2 separate regions of the Homo sapiens genome follow, and region 2 is linked to region 1. Evidence: promoter capture Hi-C in human tissues and cell types (Jung and others, 2019). All regions are on one chromosome and are shown on one strand. The core of a region is centred on a gene start or on the middle of the fragment in contact, and the rest is flanking DNA. Distances in the headings are between cores, read along the strand shown.

Region 1 (7,633 bases), core at 3,404-5,903:
AAACTGCATTAGGGTCACAGCTTTTGAAAAACCTCAATGTTGTAAACCATGTAAACCATGTGTGAATTATCAGATTTACATATACATATATATATATATTAGAGAGAGAGATAATAGATACATCATGAATTTTCTTTTTAATGTGTCAGGGTGTAGGTAGCCCAATTTATGAGTGATTGGAAAAAACAAAAAATTATGACCTCCTTATCTAGTCTGAATGAAGACTGCTTTGAAAACTGTGGTTATAGCCCTCCCTCCACCTCAATATCGCTGGCATCCGCCTGTATGAGAGGGAAGAGCAAATACAATTCCTAATCCTGCTTCAGTGGGAAAAGAAGTTACTGCATTCCTAAACTGGCATGTATTTTCTCCCATAAAAATGTTCAGTGTGAACTTTGGGAGGCCGAGGTGGGTGGATCACAAGGTCAAGAGTTCGAGACCAGCCTGACCAACATGGTGAAACCCCGTCTCTACTAAAAACACAAAAATTAGCTGGGCATGGGGCTTGCGCCTGTAATCCCAGCTACTCAGGAGGCTGAGGCAGGAGAATCACTTGAACCTGGGAGGCAGAGGTTGCAGTGAGCCAAGATCGTGCCACTGCACTCCTGCCTGGGTGACAGGCTGTTTAAGTTATTTCCAAATTTTTGCTATTTCCGAGACCGTGTCTCGGAAAAAAAAAAAATTCAGTATAGTGAGTAGCTTATAATCATGATAGAGTTGATCAACATCAAACCCACTGATTTTTATCGAGGAAAGACTGAAGACAAGAGAAATGACTTGGACAGGGCTAAATTCCAGTCTGTGGATAGGACAGGAGCAGGGTCTTACACTTTGTTCCTTGGCAATCCAAGGAACATCAACATTATGATGTCAGAAAATGATGTCCCAGTTTCACTGTTTAAAAAAAACCATTTTTAAGGGTGGGATCCTTTTGTACATTGGTCACTACCGTGTATAAAGTTATTACCCCACATTACAAAAATATCCCGGGCCTGTTTTCACCAACACTACCCCTCATTCAGGCATTCTGGCGCCTCCCAAACTTTCCTGCCTCGTCTCCTGACTTTCCTTCCTTATATTTTTCAATCTTTGAGTAGTACCAAACTACTACAGTTCTAACGCATATGGGCCTTTAACACGCTGTTCTCTTTTCTTTTTCTTTTTTTTTTTTTTGAGACGGAGTCTCGCTCTGTCGCCCAGGCTTGAGTGCAGTGGCGCGACCTCGGCTCACTGCAAGCTCAGCCTCCTGGGTTCACGGCATTCTCCTGCCTCAGCCTCCTGAGTAGCTGGGACTACAGGCGCCCGCCACCACCCCCAGCTAATTTTTTGTATTTGTAGTAGAGACGGGGTTTCACCGTGTTAGCCAGGATGGTCTCAATCTGCTGACCTCGTGATCTGCCCGCCTCGGCCTCCCAAAGTGCTGGGATTACAGGCGTGAGCCACCGCGCCTGGCTAACATGCTGTTCTGTCTTTACACGTGTAAATCTGTGTCAGAAATATCTCCCCCATCTACCTGAAAAAATATAACCTGGTCTTCAAAATTCAGCTCAGATATCACTTCCTCACTGACGCATCCCTTTGCTTTCTTGCCTGTGTTGTGTACACTGTGGTTGCTGCACTGCTATTGCCATTCACTTTTGCAGATGCTTGCCTCTCCTGTCAATGATGAGCACACTGCGGGTAAGGGACTTGTCTTCGTCACTTCTGTATTCTTGAAAATGTTTACTTATTTATTTTAGAGACAGGGTCTTGCCCTGTTGCCCAGGCTGGGACCTCAGCCTCCCCTGTAGCTGCACCACTACATGCACCACTATGCCTAATTTATTTATTTATTTTTTGTAGAGACAGGGTCTTACTGTGTTGCCCAGGTGCGTCTCAAACTCCTGGCCTCAAGCAATCCTCCTGACCTGGCCTCCCAAAGTGCTAGGATTATATGCTTGAGCCACCATACCTGGCCATTTCTGTATTCTTGTCTGTGATGACACTTAGCACACAGGAGTTGCTCAATACGGTTTGTTCAATTAAATTAATGCTTTGTTTAGTCCTAAATTACAAGTTAATGATAACTTTTCTCTAGGTTTTGTACATGATAATAAAAGATTATATTCAAGATTTTTTCTACATATAAAATTTATTGTGATACTATAAAATATTTATTTGGTGTTTGCCCTTTTCCTGACATACAACTCCTAAAATCCTTGGAATCTCCAAAGTGATAAATACCTTTCTGTACACTAATGAGTTGACTGAGGGCTGGCAGCCTCTAGAGCTTCAGGATAGGAGCTGGTCCCCGGAAAGAATAAGGCAGGATTAGAGCATTGGGACTTTCAGCTCCATCCCCTGACCTCCAGGGAGAGGAGCAGAAAGTTAAGTTGATCACCAATCAAGCATGCCTATGTAATGAAGCCTTCCTAAAAACCCCAAAAGGACAAGGTTTGGAGAGCTTCCAGGATAGCTGAACATGTGGAGGGTTCCCGAAGTGTGGTGCACCTGGCTGTACCCCTTCCCCCATATCTCATCCTATATATCGCTTCACCTGTATCCTTGTTAATATCCTTTATAGTAAACCGGAAAACTTAAGCGTTCTTCTGAATTCTGTGAGCTGCCCTAGCAAATTAAACCCAAAGAGGGAACCCCAACTTGAGATGGGTCAGTCAGAAGCTCTGGATGCTGGGACTAGTGTCTGAAGATAGTGGTAGCCCTGTGGGACTGAGCTCTCAGCCTGTGGGATCTGACGCTGTCTCCAGGTAGATGGTGTCAGAATTGCACTGAGTTAGAGGACACCCAAGCTGCTGTCTGCTGCAGAACTAAGTGATTGGTTGCTGATGGGGAGAAGTCTCCACATACCTCTTGGTTAGCAGAGGTTACAGACATTTTCTGTGTTCATTGTGTGAGAGCAGCAGACAAACAGTTCTGTGTTTTTTCCCACTCGCCAACGCTTAATGCTTCAAGTTGCTATCCTCTTGTTCCAGTCAAATCATTCAGAATCGTGAAGTGACTCCCTTGCTTATAGCGTGATGCACTATGACACCCAGTTTTCACTTGCACCCTCAAAATTAATTCCCAGTCATTTGCTGTCTGGGATTTGGCCCCATTCTTAAGGAACTACTGAAGCCATGTATTGGCTTCACTTACGCCTGAGATTACAAATTGGCTGCTCAGTTTTTTTTTTTTTTTTTGCTTTTTGTTTTGTTTTTGGTAAATTAGCTGTCAACATGCTAAGCTGAAATATTCCAGCATCTACTGAAAAAAATGAAAGGTATGGCAACACTGAGTCCTTAATTCCCAAGCGGCAACAATGTGCAGGACCTGAGTACCCAGCTGCCACCTCTCAGCTGGCACATCTGCTGGGCCCCATTATCCTCTTTGAGACCTGAGGGACAGTCATTATTTGTAATTCTTACGCTGTTGCTTTTCTCTTTCCTGTCCATTTACATTATCCTACAGCCATTTAAGTTTGTGACCCCCAGTTTATACGATTACGTCTCCACACCCTATTTTGTTTCAGCAACACCATCTTGCTAAAATCCTACGCTTGCAGAGGCTGGTAGGAAATGGCTGAGAACACACGCACCACCCTAAATGTACTCTGTGCTTCTCACTAGCATGGAAAAAGACCTGATTCATTTCATAATAATCCATCCCACACACCGGGCATCCAGTAACAGCCAGGCACATGGATGATAAAGACAAATAAGACCAGTTTTCTTTTCTTTTCTTTGCCGAGTTCACACTGTTTTGCATTCTCACAGTGCTTTATACTTTTCAAAGTGCTTTAATCCGCATTATAGCTCATTAGTTCCTCTTAAGAATCATTTGGGGGAAAATGTAGGGCAATTATTCTCCTGGCTTTAAAGTTAAGAGAGTTGCTCAGGGATACATTCAGGGTTTATTAAACTTAAACGAACCCTTCTAAGTGCCAGGCACTATCCTAGGTTCCGGGAAGACAACCAGGAACAGGGAAGTGCCCCTTACCTTTGTTGTGCTTACAGTCTAGCGACGGAAGGCACAATAATACATTGGTCAGGTAATTCGGAGGATGATAATACTATGCAGACTACGAGCCTGAACAACCCGACGGTGAAGGTCGGAGACGGCAGAGATGGCCTGGAGGAGCAGCTCCTGGGAGCCCCACCTGACGCCAGGCGCCGGCCCACTGCGACTCGAAGGAAGTCACTTAGAGCCGAGGCTGCAAGTGCCGGTGGCCCCGGGTCGGCGCCCAGGTTCAACCTGGCCCGGAGTTGAGGCAGGGCTTGTGACTGGGGGCCGCGTTCCCCCGGGGCGCTACCCCTACTTACGAAGGTGCTGCCTGGTTCGGGGCGCGTCCCCACTCGCTGGGCCACGACCTGGCTTGGACGCTACCGTGTGGCAGGGCGGCCAGCGGGCCTGACTGAGGCCACTGCCCAATATGGGCCTGTGCTGGCTGGGCGATATAAATAGAGGTCCCGCGCCCTGCGGAGGAGGAGGGAGGGCGCTGGCAGCGCCTCCGAGGGGACAGGTGCTGCCCTCTGCTTGGAAGTGGCCCGAGACCACGCCGCCGCTGCCCTCCAGCCACTGTGCGCCTGCGCACCTATTCCCGCGCTGGTTCCAGACGGCGACTACAGCCCCGGTGTCGCTGCACAGGGTCTCCCCGCGCGCGTCCCGTACCCTACTGAGCGTCCCCCGCGGAACGCTGTGCGCCTGCGCAGAGTGTTCCCGCGCTGGCCCGCGTGCCAGAGCGACTGAAGGCCTGCGGGGAGGGGATGGGGACAAGTGTTTAAAGGAGGTTTGGAAATCGAGCTTTGAAAAATGCCGGTGTTCCCGTTAGTCTTTTACACTTGCAAAATGACCAAAAGACCCCGTGTGTAGTCTCACTGTGACCGGGGGGTAGGGTTGCCCGGTAAAATACATGAGCCCAGTTAAAGGTAAATTTCAGATACACAACCAGTAATTTTTAGTGTTAAGTATGTCCCAAATATCGCATGGTCAATTCACGTTTAACTCGGTGTTCCGGTTGGGTTTCGTTTTGGTCTTGTATTTTTATTTGCTACATCCTGAGCCATCAGCTTGTGATTTTTATACCCTACACCTCTCTGAGAGTGGGAGGTTTCCAGGAGTCCCGAGAAAGGACTGGTTAGCCGGGAGCAGTGCAGGGATGGGAAGTCTTCCTTAGGCAAGTGTCATAAAATACGGCAGCTGTATTAGCTCAGTTAGCTTAAACCAAAGCAAAATAAAACTGTTTTCAGTGGTGGCAACATAACTTTATTATCTTACTATTATTTTAGCTCTGTAGGTCAGAAGTCCAAAATATGTCTCACTGGATTGAAATCAAGGTGTCAGCAGGACTGTGTTTGTTTCTGGGGCTTCCTGGAGTGAATCTGTCCCTGCCCTTTTGCAGCTTCTGGAAACTGTCTTCATTCTTTTGCTCCTGGCTCCTTCCTCCAGCTTCAAAGCCAGAAAATAGGGCTGAGTCTTTCTCACATGCATTGTGTCTGCAGTTGGTTCCTTTCAGTGGGCTTGTGGTCTCCATCTCGCTAACTTCAAGAATGAAGCCACGGACCTTAAATGTTAAAGAAAGCTTTAAAGGTCACATGGACCCAAACAGTGAGGAGCAGCAAAATTTATTGTGAAGAGCAAAAGAACAATGCTTCCACAACCTAGAAATGGACCTGACTGGGTTCCCTGTGTTGACTGGGTGGCCAGCTTTTATTCCCTTATTTGTCCCTGCCCATGTCCTGCTGATTGGTCCATTTTACCAAGTGCTGATTGGTCCATTTTACAGTGTGCTGATTGGTCCATTTTACAGAGTGCTGATTGGTCCATTTTACAAACCTCTAGCTAGCCACAGAGAGCTGATTGGTGTGTTTTTACAGAGTGCTGATTGGCCCATTTTAGAAACCTCTAGCTAGCCACAGAGCGCTGATTGGTGCGTTTTACAATCCTAGCTGCAGAGTGCTGATTGGTGCATTTTACAATCCTCTTGTAAGACAGAAAAGTTCTCCAAGTCCCCACCCAACCCAGAAGTGCAGCTGGCTTCACCTCTCAGCATCACTTTGACACTAACTCTTCTGCCCACCTCTTCCTTTTTTTTTATTGTGGTAAAATATACATAACATAACATTTATCATTTTAATCATTTTTAAGCATAGTCAGTGGCATTATGTTAATAATGTTGTACAACCATATCCAGTATCCATTTCCAGAATTTTTTCATCCTCTCAAAAGAAACTTGGTACTCCTTAAACAATAACTTATTTCTCCCTCCCCTTTAGCACCTGGTAACCACTATTCTACTTTTTGCCTCTACGAATTTGCCTATTCTAGGTGCCTTATATGAGCAAAATCATACAGAATTAGTCCTTTTTTGGGGGAGGGGGATGGGGACGGAGTCTTGCTCTGTCGCCCAGGCTGGTGTTCAGTGGTGCGATCTCAGCTCACTACAACCTCTGCCTCCCCCGTTCAAGTGATTCACCTACCTCAGCCTCCCAAGTAGCTGGGATTACAGTCGTGCTCCACCACGCCCAGCTAATTTTTGTATTTTTAGCAGAGACGAGGTTTCACCATGTTGCTCAGGCTGGTCTGAAACTCCTGACCTCAGGTGATCCACTCGCCTCAGCTTCCCAAAGTGCTGGGATTACAGGAGTAACCCACCGCTCCTGGCCAGAATTTCTCCTTTTGTAACTGGCTTATTTAACTGAGTATAATGTCCTTTCTTTTCTTAAGGCTGAATAATATTTTTCTGTGTATATGTGTGCCTTTATATACCACATTGAAAACAAAACAGATTTTATATGGTAAGTAAAGTCCCTTTAAACATTTTAGAAGGTATTCATGTCAATGAAGAATGCTTGCATGCATTCGTATTTACACTTACTTTTTTTTTTTTTTTCCTTTTTTAGAGACAGGGTCTCACTTTGTCATCTAGGCTTGAGTGCAGTGGTGCAATCATAGCTCACTTCAGCCTCGAACTCCTGGGCTTAAGTGAACCTCCCACTTCAGTCTCCCAAATAGCTGGGATTACAGGTGTGTGCCACCATGCCTGGCTAAATTTTAATTTTTTTTAGAGAGAGATAGGATCTCGCTATGTTGCCCAGGATTGTCTCAAACTCCTGGGGTGAAGCCATCCTCCCACCTCAGCCTGTCGAGCATACACATACATACTTACAGTTATTTGGGGAAATTCCTGTATCCTTTCCCCACAAACATCCCTTGATCCAGTTAGTCCTAGTTAGATCCTTCTGCGACTATTTTCTTTCCTGCTTCTGGTTTTGTTTATGAGATGTTTGTGTGAACCTAATGAATCTTTCTCAGCTTGCTTTGAAGGCGCTGTTCAATTTCCTATTGGGCTACTTTATTTTACCTTTTTCATTTGTTTCAGGAAGAAGTGGAATATGCTATGAAGAGTCAGGGCTTGGGGTCTGGAGGCTAATTTAGATGCTGGGCCATATCACTGAGTGACTATAGTTGATTCTCAAAACATCCATGTGCCAAATGATTAATGAAGTATTAATATTTATCAAATCTACTGATTTATCAATAACTTGATTTAAGGAATATGCATCTGGAATATATCATATATGAATATGTACTTTTTTACTCAGCAGTAACTTACTATTCTTTTTCTATTTACTGCTCCTTCCTACTGGGTCTCTCT
Region 2 (7,633 bases), core at 3,135-5,634, 39 kb after region 1:
AAATTTTAGCAGAGAAATTGAAACTCTAAAAAAGAACCAATTAGAAATTATGGAACAGAAAAATATCTGAAATGATGAGCTCATCAGAAGGGCTTAACAGCAGACCAGACACAATAAATGAAAGAATAAGTAAACACAAAACAGATTGTAGAAATTACCTAAGTAAAGCATGGAAAGGAAAAAGAATTTCAGCTGGGTGCAGTGGCTCACGCCTGTAATCCCAGCACTTTGGGAAGCCGAGGCTGGTGTATCACCTGAGGTCAGGGGTTCGAGACCAGCCTGGCCAACATAGTGAAACCCTGTCTCTACTAAAAATACAAAAATTCGCTGGGTGTGGTAGCACATGCCTGTAATCCCAGCTACTCAGGAGGCTGAGGCAGAATTGCTTGAATCTGGAAGGCAGAGGTTGCAGTGAGCTGAGATTGTGCCATTGCACTCCAGCCTGGGAAATATTAAAGGAGGTTCTTCAGGGTCACTATGCATTGAATGTTTGTGTCTCCCAAATTCATATGTTGAACCCTAATCCCCAATTGGATCATATTCAGAGGTGGAGCCTTTGGGAGGTGATTAGAATTAAGTTAGGTCATGAGGTTGGGGACCTCCTGGTGGAATTAATGCCCTTATAAAAAGAGGAAGAGACATGAGATCTCTGTGTGTAAATGCACAAGGGAAGGCTGTGTGAGGGAGGACATAACCTGGAAGAGAGCCCTCACCAAGGACTCAGTGTGGCTGGCACCCTGACCTAACTCCAACCTCCAGAACCGTGAGAAAATAGATTTCTATTGTTTAAGCCCCCCAGACTATCGTATTCTGTTATAGCAACCCGAACTAAGACAAGGGTGAGGATAAAAGATCCCAGTTGGAAGCCCATATCTTCAAGAAGGAATGAAGGCCACTAGAAGCAGAAATGGTTAGATAAATAGAAAAGAACAGTTCAAAAAATACATTTTAGAGCCTACTGACCACTTGAAATAACTAATAACAGAGTATGGGTGGATTTATATAATATGTAGAGGTAAAATATATAATACGTAACCTAAAGGGGAGTGAGTGGTTAAAAGAAATTAAACTGTTGTAAGTTTCTAGCATTGTACATGAAGTTGTATATCAACTTAAGGTAGAGTATGATAAGTTAAGGAGGCATATTATAATCCCTAGAGCAACAACTAGGTATAAAATAAAGAGTTATTACTAATTGAATGCAAAAGATAAAAAGGAATAATAAAAATGCTTGATTAATTCAGAAGTCTGGAAAGGAGAAACAATGGATGAGAAGGGACAAGTGGAAACAAAACAGAAAGATGGCAGACTTACACCCAACCATATGAGTAGTTCAAAACGTAAATGGAATAAACACACCAATGAAACAAGAGAGTTTGTTTGGACAGAAAAAAGAAAACTTGACCCTATAATGTTTACAAGAGACTATCTTTAAATATAAGGATACAGAAAGGTTAAAAGTAAAATAATGGAAAAAGAAACAGTATAAGAAAGCAGATGCAGCTATATTAATATCATTGCTATACTGATATAGCTGATGACCTACATTAATATTTCCAGGGAGAAGGGTGTGCTTTTCATCCTTATGATAAAGAATAATGATAAAGGGTTAATTCTTCAGGAAGTGTTAACTGTCCTAAAGTGTATTCACCCTGTATGCCTCAGTAATTTATAGAACTAAGATTTTAAAAAAGTCAAATTCACATTATGCCATTTCTCTTTCAATAACTGATAGAATAATAAGCAGACAAAAAATGGATAAAGATATATAAGATTTGAACCACACTATAAACCAATTTGAACTAATTGGTCAAAATTTGAGAACATTATACCCAACAACTGAAGAATATGTATTCTTTTCAAATGGATATGAAACATCACCAGAATAGATCATATTGTGGACCATAAATAATTTTGGATAAATGTCAAAAGTTTAAAATCAAACAGAGTGTGTTTCTTAACCACATGGGAACCAAGCTGGAAGTCAATGACAAAAAGATTATCAGATAAGCTCCAACTGTTTAGAAATGAATCTACATAATATATGGGTTTAAGAAGAAATCACAAGAGACATTAGAAAACGTTTTTAACTGAATGATAACGAAAATACAACAAATAAAAAAATTTAGGATGGCTCATGCTTGTAATCCCAGGGCTTTAGGAGGCTAAGGTGGGAGGATCTCTTGAGTCCAGGAGTTCAAGACCAGCCTGGGCAACATAGTGACACCCTGTCTCTACCAAAAAAAAAAAAAAAGAAATTAGTTGGCACAGTGGTACATGCCTGTGGTCCTAGCTACTCAGAAGGCTAAGGCAGGAGGATCATTTGAGCCCAACAGTTTGAGGCTGCAGTGAGTCATGATCATGCCACTGCTGTCTAGCCTAGGCAACAGAGCGTGACCTTGTCTCTTTAAAAATATATATATATATTTATATATTATATATATTTTATAATATATATATAAATATATATTATATATAATAATATTTTTATAATATATATATAAATATATATTATATATAATAATATATATATTATATATTTTTATATATTATATATGTTTATATATATAATATATATAAATATATACATATAATTTTTATATATAAAAATATATATATATTTAAAAAGAAGGAAGATTTAAAGCCAGTAATTCAGTTATACCCCCAAGAAGCTAGAAAGAGAGGAACAAGCTAAACCACGGAAAAGTTGAAAGAAGAAAATAAAGGGCCGGGTGTAGTGGCTCACGCCTGTAACCCCAGCACTTTGGGAGGCCGAGGTGGGTGGATCACCTGAAGTCAGGAGTCCGAGATCAGCCTGGCCAACATGGTGAAACCCCATCCCTACTAAAAATACAAAACTTAGCCAGGCATGGTGGCAGGCACCTGTAATCCCAGCTACTCGGGAGGCTGAGGCAGGGAGAATTGCTTGAACCCAGGAGGCAGAGGTTACACTGAGCTGGGATAGTGCCATTGCACTGCAACCTGGGCAACAGAGCAAGACTCTGTCTCAAAAAAAAAAAAAAAAAAAAAAAAAAAGAAAAGAAAAGAAAGGGAAGATGAGGGCAGAAGTCAATGAAATGAAAAAAAGACAAACAATAGAGAAAATCAACAGAAACAAAAGTTCTTTGAAATGACTAATATAATTGATAAATTCCCTCATAACATGATAGAGAGAGAGAGAGATTAAGGGAGAAACAAACAAATCAAATTATCAATTACCAACATCTCCAATGAAAAGGGGGGCATCACTGCAGATCTTAAAGATATTAAAAGGATAACAAGGGAATATCATGAATGTATTGGAAATGGAGAAAATCCTTTGAAAAACACAACTGCATAAATCTGACAGAAGTAAAAAAAAATCTGAGTAGTCATATTTGCTAAAGAAATTAAATCTATAATTTAAGACCTTCCCACAAAGAAAACTTAGGCACAGATAGCTTCATTGGTGAATTCAACCAATCTTTTAAAGAAAAGAAATATATACCAAGCTTGCATAACTCTTAGATAAAAGAGGAAGAGATGACACTTTCCAATTCATTTTGTGAGTCTCCTATAACTCAGATACCAAAATCTGACAAGGACATTACAAAACAAAAACAAAACAAAACAAAAAACCGACATGTCATCTACGTCTCATGAACATAGAGGCAAAATTCCTAAACAAACTATTAGCAAAATCAAATCCGGAAATATATGAAAAGGATTATATATCATAACCAAGTGGGGTTTATCTTAGAAATGCAAAGTTGATTTAATCTTTGTAAATCAATTCACTATGTTAACAGAAATAAGGAAAAAACCCAAATGATTATCTAAATAGAGAAAGCAGCTGACAAAATTAAACCCTGTTTATGGTATTCTTTCATTCAACAAATAATTATTAAATGCCTACAAGGGGTCAAAACAAAATATCTCATCCTTCTGGAGCTCACACTAGTGGAGAGAGAGAAGAGAAGCAAAAACACAGATAAGTGTACAGTGTGACATCAGCTAGTGACAAGGGCTGTGGGGAAAAGTAAACCAGGAGAAATGCAGGTCGATGGTCTCGGAAACCCTCTATAAGAAGGTGACATTTTATCAGGAACCTGAATAACATGAGTATCTTAGGCTGCCATAACAAATTACCACAAACTTAGTGGCTTAAACAACACAAATATATTATCTTACAGTTCTGAAGCTCAGAAGTCCAATGAGGGTATTACCCGGCCATGATCAAGGTGTTGGCAGGACTGCATTCCTCTCTGGGCTTCTGGGGGAGGATCCATTTACTGCCCCGCTGCGTCGTTGGCAGAATTCAATTCCTTGCATTTTAGGACTCAAGCCCCATTTCCTTACTGGCTGTCAGCTGAAGGCCATTCCCAGATTCTAGGGGCTGCCAGGTTCCCTGGCTTATGGCTCATTTCTTCCCTCTGCAAAGTTGACAATGGCGGATGGAGTCCCTCTCATGCTTTGACTCAGTCTCTCTCCAATTAGTGTCTACTTTCTGACTTAGCCAGGAAGATTTTCTGCTTTTTCTGTCTTCAAGGATTCATGGTTACATCGGGCCCACCCAATAATCCTGAATCAGCTCCCCAGCTTGCCTGCCACAAAATAGATAGGAGGGAGGGAGGCATGTGGCTCTCTGGGGAGAGGGTATTCCAGGCAGAGGGATGCAAAGTGCAGACTCAGTCAGGGCCACTGTGTCTGGGGAGGCTGAAGCACAGGGGTGAGGGTGAAGCAGCAGGAAGTGAGGCTGAGGAGCCTGTTGGGAGCCATTCAAGCACCTCTCTAGGCAGATTTGCTGGCATTTTCATTCATCTGTAGCTGTTTGTTGAGTATTACCAAAGGCCAGTGTGGAGCCAGGGGCTATGTGAAATGTGGGGTGAAGTGAGCAGGCAGTCTGGGTTTCCATGGGGTCACACTGTGGATAGGCAGTACTGGAGCAGCTTGCTTCTTACCGTTGTAAAGGTCATGCACCACACAGGAGCTGAATTGTTGGAGTCCCCACCTCAGGACTTCAGAAAGTAACTTTACTTGGAGATAAGGTCTGTACAGAGATGAGCTGACATGAGGTTCTCAGGATGGGCTCTAATCCAATGATTCATGTTCTTTGCAAAGAGGAAATTTTGACCCAGAGACAGGCACCCCAAAAAGAAAGATGATTGTGAAGACACAGGGAGAAGATGGCCATCTGCAAGCCAAGGAGAAAAGCCTGGGATGGGTTCTCCCTCACAGTCCCCAGAAGGAACCAACCCTGTGACATCTTGATCTGGGACTTGTGGCCTCCAGCATCATGAGACAATAGATTTCTGCTGGTTAAGACTCCCTGTCTGTTACAGCAGCCCAAGCCGACTCATCCATAATACACAGGGGGCCTGGCAGAGGGCAGCAGGGGCCTGGGCTCCCTCTCCAGGCCCTGCACCTGGAGGAAATGGGTGCTTTGAGAGCTTCACACAGAGGAATCATCACTCGCCAGGCTGTGCCATGCAGGGAGATGTCTACCTGGAATTGTTATAAGTTCATAAAGTGCTCTAGGTCATCTGGGGTTCATCCTGCTTTCGCCCACCCAGTATTTGTTATCCACTTGTCCCTCACTAATATGATCTTAATTTTATTCTGGGCAACAATGTACTAAAATTAAAAAAAAATAGAAACCAAACCAAACCAACAGAGACATGTATTTCCTGGCTTCCTCTGCAGATGAAGATGCCTTGTGACTAAGATCTGGTCTGTGGGCTCGAAGTAGAAGTTGGATGGGAAAGAAGTCCCTTAAACATGGGATGACTTGGCCAGGCATGGTGGCTCACACCTGTAATCCCAGCACTTTAAGAGGCCAAGGTGGGCAGATCACGAGGTCAAGAGATGGAAACCATTCTCGCCAACATGGTGAAACCCTGCCTCTACTAAAAATACAAAAATTAGCTGGGTGTGGTGGCGCACACCTGTAGTCCCAGCTACTCGGGAGGCTGAGGCAACAGAATCACTTGAACCTGGGAGGCAAAGGTTGCAGTGAGCTGAGATCATGACACTGCACTCCAGCCTGGGGGACAGAGCAAGACTCCGTCTCAGAAAAATAAAAAATACAAAGGGGATGACTCAGCCAGACTTCTTCCTCCTGTTGCCACTCCCAGTAGCTATCTTAGATGTGTAAGGGTATGGATCACACCCGAAAGACCATAGAGTTCTCAGTGGCATTGCAGAGCTGTTATGCCAGCCCTGGACTGCTTCTGGCAGGCTGGGGGAAATGCACCCTTGTCTTTTTTTTTTGAGACAAAGTCTCATTCTTCTCACCCAGGCTGGAGTGCAATGGCGCCATCTTGACTCACTGCAACCTCCACCTCTCGTGTTCAAGCGATTCTCCTGCTCCAGCCACCTGAGTAGCTGGGGTTATAGGCGCCCACCACCATGCCTGGCTAATTTTTTGTATTTTTAGTAGAGATGGGGTTTCACCATGTTGGTCAGGCTGGTCTCTAACTCCTAAACTCAGGTGATCCACCCGCCTCGGCCTCCCAAAGTGCTGGTATTACAGGCGTGAGCCACTGCCCCCTGCCCCCTTGTCTCTTCTAAGCCACTGTTTTCCTAACTGATTCAGACTACAATCCTTACTTCACAAAAGTATTCTACACAATTGTCCAGAATTCCCAAATTCATGGCTGCCTGCTAACATAGCATTTCTTCTTGAAGTGTGAGATAAATGATTTTGTAAGCTGTAGAAAAAGACCAGGGACTACCAGCCAGGTAATCTTGGGCAATTCACTTAATCTTTAGTCTCTTCTGCAAAATGGCGATAGTGATGGTTCCCATCTTTTAGAGACGTGATGTTGCAAAGGCATCTAAGGCTCTTAGAATAGGCCTGAACACCTGGGAAAAACAAGAGAAGTTATTTCTTATTATTGTTGCTCCCTAACTAACATTGAGAACAGTTTCCTTTGAGACCATTTCTCTCATCCTATTCAAGTAGTGTCTAATTCCAGGCCAAGTTCTGGATTGGAGCAGTGATGGCAGACAATCTAATCATTTATGTAAGCATCAATAAGCACACGTGCTAAGCCAAGGTCCCAGTATTGGTCAATTTTCCCTGAATTTGGGTTTTCATAATAACGCCAACTAAAGCTGATCAAGGTCAGGATGTGCAAGAGATGTTTTGTTGTCATGGTCTCCCGGGGGCAAGGCTGCTCCTGGGCTCTGAAGGCTCCATGGTAGAATGTTACCAATGCACACAGAGTCTCCTGGGCCAAGCCACGTGAATCAAACTGCCCAGAGCCTTTTGTGTAAATCAGTAATCTCCAATGGGGTCCATGCCTTCTCAGGGCCTGACACCCTAGTTTTGCTCTCAACAAACACTAAGAAACTGAATTAGAAATCCAGAGTCGTCGGTGAGCATAGAGCAAATCAATAAGAAGTGGATTATCTTGTGAGGGCAGGGATTTGTGTTCATGCCATTCAGTCTTATATCCTCAAAGCCTAGAACAGTGCCTTGCTCATAATAGGTGCTCATCCAATATTTGCTTGACAAATGAATGAATGGAGGGTCAGAAACAAATAGTGACAGCTCATCTAGGCCAGCAGCATGCAGCTTAACATGCCAGTTCCATGCCTGTGATAATACCACAGCTGGAGTTTATTTGGTAAAAACTATAATACAAAGTTC

What was found. Contacts are between HindIII fragments. The study calls those that stand out against the background at their distance.
Region 2: a fragment that was not itself captured here is called in contact with the fragment with the promoter of KBTBD12 in region 1 in 1 of the 25 tissues and cell types used here (small bowel).

The regions. Positions count from the first base shown.
Region 1 is chr3:127,912,252-127,919,884 of GRCh38, reverse strand. It overlaps KBTBD12 (kelch repeat and BTB domain containing 12), which reads right to left and starts at 4,653. Exons shown (of 6, transcript NM_207335.4): 1 at 4,299-4,653. LOC107986129 (a long non-coding RNA gene) reads left to right here. Exons shown (of 5, transcript XR_001740896.2): 3 at 1,644-1,680. It overlaps LOC124909427 (a long non-coding RNA gene), which reads right to left. Exons shown (of 2, transcript XR_007096071.1): 2 at 5,219-5,539. The HindIII fragment of the contact is 11,252 bases long and covers 1-6,632 here.
Region 2 is chr3:127,872,779-127,880,411 of GRCh38, reverse strand. All of the region lies in intron 3 of LOC107986129 (a long non-coding RNA gene), which reads left to right. Among named protein-coding and RNA genes, the nearest start is that of KBTBD12, 39 kb to the left of the region's middle. The HindIII fragment of the contact is 8,894 bases long and covers 1-7,633 here.